2 separate regions of the Homo sapiens genome follow, and region 1 is linked to region 2. The links are contacts of gene promoters, found by promoter capture Hi-C in blood cells and fetal thymus (Javierre and others, 2016). All regions are on one chromosome and are shown on one strand. The core of a region is centred on a gene start or on the middle of the fragment in contact, and the rest is flanking DNA. Distances in the headings are between cores, read along the strand shown. Region 1 overlaps YARS2 (tyrosyl-tRNA synthetase 2). Region 2 holds the start of ERGIC2 (ERGIC and golgi 2).

Region 1 (6,689 bases), core at 2,162-4,661, 3.4 Mb after region 2:
TGAATTAGAAACTTTCTGAAAAGTCACGTACTGATTTTTGTACTATTATTTGTAAAGAAACTACTTACTGTAATTTCTCAAAGCAACCATGGCCTCATCTAACTTTTTCTCCTTTTTAAGAACTACATTTGCTCTCTGAACTACAAAAAAATCAAATTTCTATTCAAAGTTTCTAATACTAGTTTTCCCATTTCTAATGTGGACACTAGAGGCCCTGATGATTTTATAAACAACTATATAACATTAGTGACATCGGTGCTCCATACCTGATAGAAAAGCAGCTACAATTCCTTTTTTTTTTTTTTTTTTTTGAGACAGAGTTTCACTCACTACTCATGCTGTCTCCCAGGCTGGAGTGCAGTGGCGTGATCTCAGCTCACTGCAACCTCCATCTCCTGGGTTCAAGTGATTCTCGCAGCTCAGCCTCTTGAGTAGCTGGGGTTACAGGTGCCTGCAACCACATCTGGCTAATTTTTATATTTTCAGTAGAGACGGGGTTTCGCCCTGTTGGCCAGGCTGGTCTCAAACTCCTGGCCTCAAGCGATTTGCCCACCTTGGCCTCCCGAAGTGCTGGGATTACAGGTGTGAGCCACCATGCCCAGCCTCACAATTCCTTACACTACCTCTTTTTCATTGTTCCTCATCACTACAAAAAGGAGAGCAGGAAGGGTAAGATAGGAAAGCAGCATTTCTTTCTCTTCTGAAGTATAATTTTAAAAAGAGATTAACCCTGAAAATCATGGTTTTCTATGGTAATCAAGCTTTGTACATCAGAAAATAAAACATCCCATTATTAAACAAATATTTATTAACCGGCCCATAAAAATAATGAAGTTACTCACACTGAGTCCTAGTCCATTCTGTTTTTCTGATTTGCATAAGCAAAGGTCTAAGTTCTGGAGCCAACCCTTCAGAGGTCTTGAGAATGAATGATGGGTAAGTTTATTTGGACAACCAGAAGGACTTTTCATCACAACTGAAGCCATTTTATAATGTAGAAATTTCTTTTTCCTATTTTAAGTAAGGAAAGTCCATTCTTGAGAATATGTTGTCCAACAATTAAAACACTCTCAGGATTTGTTACTTGTTGGTGATTTATGCTGACTCCGCCTTCTGTTATCATTCGATACCTAAAAAATAGAAACGTTTAGTAAGTAGAGAGATCCAATCACTGTTGATCTGTCCCCCAAAAAAGACTGTTTCACTTAGATTTCAGAGGCTCTCCAATTGAGAAGATTTCATTTGGCACTGGACTGTTACCTTCATGTTTGCTCTATTATTAATAGATTCTGCCTCTCTTTACTGCTCTTTGTTTTTTGTTGTTTGTTTTTGAAACACATTCTTGCTCTGTAGCCCAGGCTGGCATGATCTCAGCTCACTGCAACCTCCGCCTCCTGTGTTCTAAGTGATTCTCCTGCCTCAGCCTCCAGAGTAGCTGCGATTACAGGTGCATGCCACCACACCTGGCTAATTTTGTATTTTTAGTAGAGATGGGTTTCGCCATGTTAGCCAGGCTGGTCTCAAACTCCCAACCTCAAGTGATCCACCTGCCTTGGCCTCCCAAAGTGCTGGGATTACAGGTGTGAACCACTGTGTCTGGCCGGAATTTACGCCTTGCAATCTGCTCTTTTAAAGACTCCGTCTCAAGAAAAAAAAAGAAAGACCTAGGAGAAGTTGTTCTAGGAGCACACTGGGTAGGTGAGGGCTGAACATTTCACTGAAAAAAGAGATACTTAAACTGGGAGTGAAGCTACCTTGACAATCAGGGCAGGAAACATGGGAGCAGCTAGAAAGAGGTGAGATCTGAGAAGACAGGGCTACAGCGTGGCTAGATCTTGGAAGTCCTTAAGAAAGAAAAATGGTGGTTTTCTCTCATCTGAATGTTACCAAATAAAATTAAGAAACCACTACTGGACATGGTTTTAAAGATATTTTTATACCTTTATTTTTGGGTAGAGACGGAGTCTCACTACGTCCTTGCCCACACAGATCTTGAACTCCTGGCCCCAAGCAATCCTCCCGCCCTCAGCCTCCCGAAGTGCTGGGATTACAAATGTGAGCCACCATACCTGGCCATGGACATGGTTTTATAAAACTCATCAGTAAAATATTTTCTACTTAAGGCCAGATTCCTTTCTTTTAGGAAGTATTATTTTACGCTGTCTGCTAGTTTCCAGATCATGTTCTATGTTTAATTTAAATGCACCAAACCTATTTAGCTTATATAATATTAAAAAAAAAAATCAGTATTACTTAGAGCCCTGGCTAAATCAGATGTGGTGTCATTTTTAGTAGTGGTAAAGCTTCCAGTATTAGCGAACACACTATAGTAAAGTTCAGAAGAAAACGAAATCTGCTTCCATAGTGAGGAAAATTATTTGTCTCGCTGACATACTACAGGGAAGTATATGACACCAGCCTCAAATTCACTGTGTGTTAAACCAGCAGATGAGGGAATCACTAAGGTGGAGTGGCAGGTGATGCAAAGGGAGACAATGGGTGCTTTTTCCAGGCAGAATAGTCTAGGACTCTTTAGGACACAGGCAAACAATCCAAGACAGTTGAAAGAGAACAACTATAACAAATGTCATTCATAATCATGGCCATGATATGGCCGATAACCATTTGACTTCTGTGTGAACTCCTGCAAAAGAGGCACCTGGGGGTCTTCTGGCTACCCAACACTTTTCCTTCCACCTCACTGTTCATTTAAAAATGGATAAGCATCAATTATATGCTGAATTATTTTTTGTGAAAAACCTTATTTACTCCTTAATACCTCATAACTGATTAATTAAAATATTCTACTCAATTCCTGAATAGAAAATGCAATTCTCAAGGGGATTATTATATAGTTTACAATAATAGTCTTATGACGTTAGTAGGTTAGTGCAAAAGTACTTGCGGTTTTGGCCATTATATGCTCATTTCATTTTCAGAAATTCAGTTAATACTATAGATAGGTTAGGTAACCTTTCCCATCCCCGAATATAAAAAGGATACAGACTATGAGAGGGGCTGTGTTAATCTGTTACATAGGGCCTCTGTTTCTGCATCCCTCTAAAACTGTGACCATATCCCTAAGCCGTACACTGATGCCAGTGTATTTACTGAACATGTCCCTCAAATGCACTTTTCCAGTGTTGGAGGAAAGACTGACTGGGTTAGATATAATAAGAGACAGTATAGGAGTACTGTACTATTATAGAAAATATAAAGTATTTTCAACAATAAGTACTCTCAGGCTATACTTTATTCTTGGACTAAACTAACTTTTCTAAGGAAGAGATGCCACTAAAGCACTATCAGGAAAACATCCTCTCTGGAAACACATGCTGTGAACTGTAACATTTTATTTATTTTTTGAGACAGAGTCTTGCTCTGTCACCCAGGCTGGAGTGCAGTGGTGGGATCTCCGCTCACTGCAAGCTCTGCCTCCCGGGTTGATGCCATTCTCCTGCCTCAGCCTCCCAAGTAGCTGGGACTACAGGCGCCTGCCACCATGCCCGGCTAATTTGTATTTTTAGTAGAGACAGGGTTTCACCGTGTTAGCCAGGATGGTCTCGATCTCCTGACCTCGTGATCTGCCCGCCTCGGCCTCCCAATGTGCTGTGATTACAGGCATGAGCCACTTCTCCTGGCCTTGTGAACTGTAACATTTAATGGTGAATTAACTGTAAATCTAAAAGTTAAATAATCTTACCCTCGGGGACCATCTGGAATGGCATTTGCTTTGCGGCAAGTATCTAGGACACTTGTTCCAGGATCGAGAAAAAATTCAGAAAATGGAGCTTCTTTAAACAACTCTTTTAACTCCTGATCAGACATGACCTCCAGTGCATCTATGCTACTGTGATAAAGGGCTTGTGTACACCTGAAAAACACATTTTAAGAGCTACATCATATAAATGTTTATTCAAATACATGTTCTAATACCCATTAACCAATTATAGAGTGTCCAAGTTCTAGACTAAAAGTTTTTTTTTGAGATGGAGTCTCGCTCTGTTGCCCCGGCTGGATTGCAATGGCATGATCTCGGCTCACAGCAACCTCTGCCTCCCGGGTTCAGGCGATTCTCCTGCCTCAGCCTCCTGAGTAGCTGGGATTACAGACGTGTGCCACCACGCCCAGCTAAGTTTTGTATTTTTAGTAGAGATGGGGGTTTCACCATGTTGGTCAGGCTGGTCTCGAACTCCTGACCTCGTGATCAGCCCACCTTGGCCTCCCAAAGTGCTGGGATTACAGGCGTGAGCCACCGCGCCCGGCATAGACTAAAAGTTTTTTAAACATCTATCTGGTATAATTCATAAACTTAATTCAAGATAATCCTTCTTTCCAATAAACAGGGGCTATTTTAAATTGCTAAGTCAAATACTGACAGTCCTTGTGATAAATGACAAGATAATCCTAAAACATACTCCTACTTTTCTCATGTCTATCCACTGAATAACTAACTATCAAGTGTTAATCATACTAAACTACTACCTTTTAGCAGAATCCAATCCTTCTCGTCCATGAACAAGCTTTGTTACTTCTGCTGCCAGTCGTTTCTGAGGACCCCGCCTTTCTGGCTCTTTGACATGCAGCTGCATGATATGATCAATCTCTGGAAGGGGCAGGAAAGTGAACAGCTTCAGGTACCTTTGAGACAAAAAATAAAGAGTTACACTTATATAACATACCTAATTTTTATCTCCAGCTCTTCTACCCTTTAAGGTTATCCTGCTTACTTTTAAATATGAAACAAACATACAGAAATGTACTGAACATAGTAGGTCCCATGCACACATCACCCAGATTTAAGGTGTTACTATTTTGGCATCTTTGTTTTCAATTTCTTTTTTTTTTTTTTGAGATGGGGGTCTTGCTGTTGCCCAGGCTGGAGTGCAGTGGCATGATCATGGCTCACTGTAACCTCAACCTCCTGGGCTCAAGCAATTCTACCACCTCTGCCTCCCAAGCAGCCGGGACCACAGGCTTGTGCCACCACGCCTGGCTAATTTTTATATTTTTTTTGTAAAGACGGGGTCTCCTGTGTTGCCCAGGCTGGTCTCAAACTCCTGGGCTCAAGTGATCCTCTTGTCTCAGCCTCCCAAAGTGTTGGGATTATGGGCAGGAGCCACCAAGCCCAGCCTCGTATTTTCTTTTTAAAAGGAACAAAATAGGCATAGATGAAGGCCGCAGTCCAATCACATTCCCTTCCTTGCCCCGAGATAATCATAAATCTAAGTTTATGTGCTGCCATCTTTCCCAAGCATGTTTTTATACTTTCATGTGCATGTGGCCATAAAAAAAAAGTACTGTGTAATTTTAAAAACTGATATAAATCATCATGCTCTGCATAATGATGTTTCTGTCAATGATGGACTACATATATCCGCGGTCCCCAACCTTTTTGGCACCACGAGGCGGCGGGGAGGGGAGGTGGTTTCAGAATGAAACTGTTCCACTTCAGATCATCAGGCATTTGTTGGATCCTCAAAAGGAATGCGCAACCTAGATCTCTTGCATGCGCAGTTCACAATAGGGTTTGTGCTCCTATGAGAATCTAATGCAACCGTGGATCTGACAGGAGATGGAGCCCAGGTGTAATGCTCGCTCGCCTGCCACTCAGCTCCTGTTGCGCAGCCCTGTTCCTAACAGGCCACGGACTGGTACAGTCCAACAGTGGTTCATAACATTATAATACCATAGTTTACTGTACTTTTTCTATGTTTACGTATACAAATACTTACCCTCGCGTTATCACTGCCTTCAGTATTTAGTACAGTAATGTGCTGTATGTGCTTCTACCCTGGGAGCAACAGGGTACACTGTATAGCCTAAGTGTGTAGTAGGCTATGCTATCTATGTTTGTGCAGGGACACTCTACGATATTTGCAATGATGAAATCACCTAACAACACACTTCCCAGAATGTATCCCTATTGTTAAGTGATATATGACTATAATATCATCCTATATGTATTCTCTTTTTCTTTGGTGAAATATATATAACACACAGAAAAAAGTACATTATTCACAAAGATATAGCTTAATGAATCATAAAACATCTATGTAACCATCACCATGGTCAAGAAATACAGTATTGGGCCGGGCGCAGTGGCTCACGTCTGTAATCAAATAGTGAGTTTGGCAGAGTTGCTAGATTTAAAGGTAATATATATAAAGTAATTGTATTTCTATACACCAGAACCAGATAGAAAATGCAATTTTTGAAAAGATTATCTAAATTCTCTAGGCCGGGTGCGGTAGCTCAAGCCTGTAATCCCAGCACTTTGGGAGGCTGAGGAAGGTGGATCACTTGAGGTCAGGAGTTCGAGACCAGCCTGGCCAACATGGCGAAACCCTGCCTCTACAAAAATACAAAAATTAGCTGGGCATGGTGGCGCATGCCTGTAGTCCTAGCTACTCAGGAGAATCACTTGAACCCAGGAGGCGGAGGTTGCAATGAGCCAAGATCATGCCACTACACTCTAGCCTGGGCAACAAAGTGAGACACTGCCTCAAAAAAAAAAAAAAAAAAAAAAAAAGATTATCAATTCTCAATACATCAAAACCCCAGGACTATATCGTCAAACATTCTAGGACTAAATCTAAAGAGAAAAAAACACAATTACCAAAATTTTGTAATAAGGCATGATAATCTTCCACTCTGTTCTTCAAAAACATCTTGGCCAATCTTAGCCC
Region 2 (6,322 bases), core at 3,547-6,046:
AGCACCCAGATCATTCAATATGCTTCTCCCCCACTCCATTATCATCCTTTGGAATTCATGCTCTGATGGCATTTATCCTATAGCATTCATTCACAATAAAACCTTTTTACCATGTAAGCTTAACAGCGCTTCTCCTCCTGTGACCTCCATCTTAATTCTATGGAAAGCCACCCATGAGCAAGGTCAACCCTTAAAACTGTTCCACCTCTAAAATCCAAAACACATTTACCTCCCCAAGTAGGAACTACCCTTCAAGCTCTTTCCTAAGATAAATCTGCTCTTCATTTTCACTGGTGTTCTCAAATCCTTTAAATCCTACCAGATACCCAATTTCATTGCTCCATTCCCACTCTATTTGCCTCTCTACTCAGTGTGGTAAGCCATTTTCAAAAATGTGTTTGGAAATACCTCAGATCATCAATGCTTGCCAGAAGTCATTGCTATTCTGTGACAAAATTTTCTAGTCATGGACAACGTAGAAAAGAACTTTTAAAGCTAAATTTATTCCATTTTAAAATGTGTCCTTTATTCTGAGATTATTTTATTCCATTTTGTCAAAACAGCCTTTCCTTTATGAAATGATAAAAACAGATATAACAGAGGTTGTTTTGTTTTTGGATGTCTTTATTCAGCAAAATTAAAAAATGTAATTCTAGGTCAGTTTTTATACCCAGCCCTTTTCCCTGTCCACACGGCCCGCCCCTCTCAAATAGATATACATTTTCTTGTATTGGTCCACAAAATCTAGTTAGAAGCCGTTACACAAGATTCCTTTGCCCACTGGTTGGTGCTGCTATTCATACCTTGACAATCTCCAGTACTATGTCTGTTTTCTTTGATGTCTCTCCTTAAACTGTCTTGAATATTAAAAAACAAAACAAACATAAATAAACTCCAGAAAGTCACTGATAACAGCTGGAGCTAAGACAAGACAGTTGTCCCTCAGTATCCATGGGGTATTGGTTCCAGGACCTCCCTTGGATATCAAAATTCTCAGATGCTCAAGTCACTGACATAAAATGGTGTAGTTTTTGCATATAACCTATGCACATCCTCTTGTATACTTTAAATGATCTTTAGACTACTTATAAAACCTAATATAATGTAAATGCTATGTAAATAGTTGTACTGTTTAGGAAATAATGAAAAGAAAGAAGTCTGTAAGTATTCAGTACAGACACAATACTTGTTCAGTAGGCATGCAATTTTTCCTTCTTGAATATTTTCAATCTGCAACTGGTTGAGTCCACAGATGCAGAATCCACAGATATGGAGGGGTGACTGTATTTTGAAAAACTTCCTAAGACATAAGAGACTCCCTTTCAGGTTGGAACACAGACATTATCAACACTCACTGTAAGTAAAGTCACACAGCCTATATTTCATCATTGTATCCATCTGAATATAATGAGACTATTAAATGCTTTACCAAAATTAAAATACAGAATTCATGAACTTTTTATAGTCTGCTCAGTTAAGTTTAATTCTCCAAAGAAAAATGAAGACAAAAGTTATTTCCTGCTACCCAAGTTTTGAGTTAACTTCTATTTTTAATACATATTTGGCAATATGAGAAAAATTTAATTGGTTAATACATATGGCCAAGTTGCAGTCTGAACTGTGTCAACTCACAATTTGATACGTTGAACAAGATATGTTGAAGTCTCAACCTCTGGTATCTATGAATGGGCCTTATTTGGAAATATTTGAGTCTTTCAGATATAACTAATTAAGATGAGATCATACTGGATCAGGGTGCTCCAAAATCTGAGACTGGTGTCCTTTTAAGAAGGCCATGTGAAGACACAGAGAAACACAAGGGAAAATGCCATGTGAAAACAAAGGCAGAGACTACAGTGATGTGTCTACAAACCCAGGCATAGCAAGGATTGCCCAGAAGCCAGGAAGAGTCAAAGAAGGATTCTTTCCTAGAGTCTTCAAGTCTTGCTGACACCTTGATTTCAGACTTCTAGCCTCCAGAACTGTGAGAGAATAAATTTCTTTTGTTTTAAGCCTCCCAGCTTATAGTAAGTTGTTACAGCAGCCCCAGGCAACTAATACAGGCAATATAATTCAGGCCATCGCTGAATATCAGAAATAAAAGGTAAAACTACAACCTATCTGTAATTTTAAATTACTTGATTATATTGCATTAGAATACTTTACAATAAAAAACATTTTATAAGATAGCTTAGCTTTACTTTGCAAATACTAGATAGCAACCCCCCAACCCCCTCAATTGTACTTATTTTTACCTTAAAATTTGGACCTTTTACAACAGAGTTAAATATTATGTTTGTTTACCCCAACATAATTCAAATAAACCTAATGACATTCTAAGTGACAGAAAGGTTTACTTGGAAGCCAAGGAAGACAATATAAATGTGAGTTTATAATCAGAAAACCCTGATTACCTAGGCACTTACTAGTTGTGTGACAAGTGTGGAAAGATACTCAACTTCTTAGAATCCTCTCTCCATAATTTTATTTTAAAAGATGGGCAGCAGGACATAATGGCTACCTCACAGTGTTAAGATAAAAATGAGGCATGTAATATCTATTTCTAATTCTCTGAAAAAAAGCAAAGATTTGTAGGATATTTGAGATTTAGTTGTTAAAGTCTTTGAGGAAAGTGGGAGAGTATGTGAGGTTAGTTGACAATCTCCTGAAGTTAGGATGGCATAAACTGATAAGACTAAAAGTTAAGAGAGACTATAGAGTGATAACAGAATAACCTTAAAAGTGCCTAGTAGCAATGTGAAGCAAGGACAAGTATAATCCTCCTCAAAGAACAACTAGACTATAGTAGCTCTCAATAAAAGTATAGAAAATTAAAGTTAAAAAGTATTAAGGAAAAGGTCAGGGACACATGAAATATATTTACAATAGAATGAATGTTCTCAAAAGCAAAGAGTATGGGGGTTAATAAGGCACTCAGAGGGTAGATCTGAGCCACACTACAACGTGACTATATAGAGCAATAGAAAGGAAGAACTTATGCTTTAGTCATTAAAAGAGGATAATAATTTAAGAAAACAAGCAACTGGATAATGGGAGTTTAAGGACACATTAACCACACCAATCAGAGTGTTTAATCAATCTGGAGTTCAGAAAGATATTATTTTAAACAATATCTTCTTCAGTCTACATTTTGACTAAGTAACAAGGCAACATTTGTAACTACAGATGTTAGAAAATGAAAATAAAAAATAACAAGAGCTAACATGCATTGAGTGTTTACTGTGTGCCAGGTATTGTTCTAAATGCTTTGTATGTTTCAACACATTCAATCCTCACAACCTTCCTATGAGTTAAGTATCATTATTTCATTTGGCCGATGAAGGAACTAAGGCACAGAGAGGTTAAATAATTTGACCACTATGACATTAAGAGGCAGAATTACAATAAATATTGGGAAACTATTAAATAGGATTTTTAGCAGGCACTGACTGCCTAAAAGTAACTTCTGGTAAAGAAAAAAAAAATAGCCATTTCTTTCACTTAAATCATCAATCCCCAAAGAAAGAAAATGTGTGGGTGGTTGTTGTTGTTTCCCTAACTCTCGTTGTTCCAGACTAGGCCTGATTTCCTTTGAGAGATCTTTCAAACTTGATATATTTTTATGATTTGTACCAGGAAGCCATTATAACACGCAACTGTATACTAAAGTTCACCATCATTTAAAAAAAAAAAAAAAATCCTCCTCTCTCTATCCATCCCTGCACCGCCAACCCCCACCCTCCCAAAAAATCAGAATTTTTTTCCTCATGTTTTCCACTAGAACTGGCATAATTACAACAACTTAAAGATATCAACAAACAAATTAGGTAAATAACCATGTCTTTTTTCAGTGAACAAGCCAGGCTCATTCTTTATAATTGCTGTATACTGGAGTCCAATGTATCAGGCTAGGCAATTAACTGAAATACTGAATTACAACTTCAAATGAATAAATCCTGTTTTTAACTGTAACTTTCATTGCTTCTGAAAACCAGTCTGGCAACATTTTAACAGCTATTATGCCACTTTGTCTTTAAGTCTCGGGGGCACTAAAATATAAAAGTTATTTAAACGTGTTTTCTCAAACAATGACCTGTCAACTCTATATACTACAGATAAACAAGGCTATTCTCCACCACGAGTTGACACGTTGCCTTCGGAAGGTTTCCTGCGCCGAGGAAAAGTAGTGACAGTCGAACCTGTCTCTCAGCATCTCGCCCTCCCCCGCCCCCTTCTCATTTTCCGAAGCACTGTGCGAAACTCCTTCCGGGCAAGGCCAAGACTCTTAAAGAGACAGAGGGCAACGTGCTGCCACGAATGTGGCATTTGTCTGAATGGGGGTAGGGAGTCTGACATCCGGGAGGACTGGGACTCGACCGATTGGGATCCTACTCGCCTGCGGACTGGAGAAACCACCTGGGAACCGGGCACTGTGACAAGCAAAGGGTCAGAATCAGGTGCGATCGAGGAAGCACCTGAACTCCTTCGAGTTGCAGGATAGCACACAAGCACCCGGACCTGGCAAAGGGAAGCTCCCAGTAGCATCGTTGCCTAGGGTCCTGCCAGTAACGCCCCCGTGGGAGGTGGAGCGGCTTCTCCGTCCGACCGGCTCTCTAGAGATCAATGAAGACAGGAAGCCAAGCCCATGACAGGCTCCCAGTTCCCTCAATTGCATTTACGCCCTAAACAGCCCTGGAACAACCGAGGGAACAGCACCCAGCGGTGTTTCAGTATTTTACCTTGTGTTATGGTCCCAGCCTACCGCCATGTTTCACAGAAGCCCGGGTCGCCGGGGCTCCCGCGTACCCGGAAATATCGCGAGAACAAAAGCGACTATCACAGCTGAAAACGTCAGAAAAGAGACAATGTACAGATCTCGCGATATTCCCTTTGCTTACGACGTGCTTAGGGAATGAAGAGGCGTGGTTAAGATAAAAGAGGCGTGCCTACAGGGAAATGAGGTTGCAACTTGTTTTAGGTGTAATCGCGCCGCCAGTCCGGTTCTGTTTCTATGGGAAGGGAGGGGTTACTTTCCGACTAACACTGAGACTGCAGAACGAATCTCAGCTCCTCACACCGTATTTCATTACTAATAAGAGCCTTGGGCGCAGAAATTATCCCTAACAACCCTAATGCATATCACCTGTGCAATTGTTTTGTTTCCCTCTTTCAGTTTTTGTGTCGTTTTCCCCTGACAAGAACATTTGAGCTTCCTTTTCCGCCATAGGTAACGCTTTTTATTATTTGATCAGCGTTTTTATTGTCTTCCAGGTTTTAATATCATAAGAAAGCACATATGTCTTCCTCATCTCCCTTCGCCAACACCAACTATGCCTTCAAATATTTGTTAAGAAAGAAAATTAATACCTCATCTTTTTCTACCACTTCATAGAACAGGAGTTAATAGACGGAACTTCGGAAAGAAAAGTTAAATGTGAACTCCTGGAGAGTAAACCCATTCCAGGTTCCTTTTCACCCATCTGTTACCAGATTTTATAATCAAACATTGAGATTTAAATTTTCTGATTCATTGACCTAGAAGTCTAACAACGGCATAATTATGACAACTGCTTATAATTACTGTTTAAAGGCTTTAACTGCTTTTTTAAAAAATCTGCGTATCCTCACAACACTCTTAGAAGATAATACCAGTATTTACCTGTTTTATAAATACGGAATTTGAGTCAAGGGGTAGTGAAGTGATTTACCCAAATTCAGACCGCTGGGAGAGTCAGGGAAATCTTGATCACAATACTAAACTGTGCCTCAAAGGAAAAAAATCACATTGTTTTATGTAGTGAATTAACCTTTACTGAAATACTAAATTTCACTAAATTGAATATCCCCCAAAATAAGGACTGATGAAAAGTTTCCAATGAATCAATTTTATTTTCAGACTTTCAGAGTTAGTCTAATTAAATCAATTTAAAGTTCTCACTTTCTTGACATGCTTAAGAAGTATAGTGTAGTGGGTGAAATCATAGACACTGGAGACAGGACTTCCTGGGTTAGAATTCCAGATCAGCAACTTACTAGCATGTAACCTTGACCACATTATTTCATCTCTTTGTGTCTCCATTTGCTCATCTGTAAAATGGGCATGATAATATCTCAGAGTTGTTACGAGGATTAAGTAAATTAATATACATCTAAAATGCCTTTTTTTAATCTTTGCCGTAAAGGCATCAGCAACTCTTCCTTCTTTGTGAATATGGGCTCTTGCTTGGATGGAGGCTGGCTGTTGTTCACTTAGTTACATCTGATCCCTCATCTCCTGGATAACCTACTTTCAGGGTAACAACTATCCCATGAGAGTTGGATT

The links. Contacts are between HindIII fragments. The CHiCAGO score rates a contact against its expected background, and 5 or more counts as called.
Region 1: a contact is called between a fragment that was not itself captured here and the fragment with the promoter of ERGIC2 in region 2, in 3 of 17 cell types (naive CD4 T cells, activated CD4 T cells and non-activated CD4 T cells). The highest score is 5.5, in naive CD4 T cells.

The regions. Positions count from the first base shown.
Region 1 is chr12:32,746,234-32,752,922 of GRCh38, forward strand. YARS2 (tyrosyl-tRNA synthetase 2) reads right to left here. Exons shown (of 5, transcript NM_001040436.3): 3 at 4,486-4,641; 4 at 3,704-3,874; 5 at 311-1,130. The coding sequence ends at 971. Among named protein-coding and RNA genes, the nearest start is that of YARS2, 6.3 kb to the right of the region's middle. The HindIII fragment of the contact is 2,220 bases long and covers 2,302-4,521 here.
Region 2 is chr12:29,376,376-29,382,697 of GRCh38, forward strand. It overlaps ERGIC2 (ERGIC and golgi 2), which reads right to left and starts at 4,797. Exons shown (of 14, transcript NM_016570.3): 1 at 4,740-4,797. RefSeq lists an enhancer at 4,360-4,529. The HindIII fragment of the contact is 7,270 bases long and covers 117-6,322 here.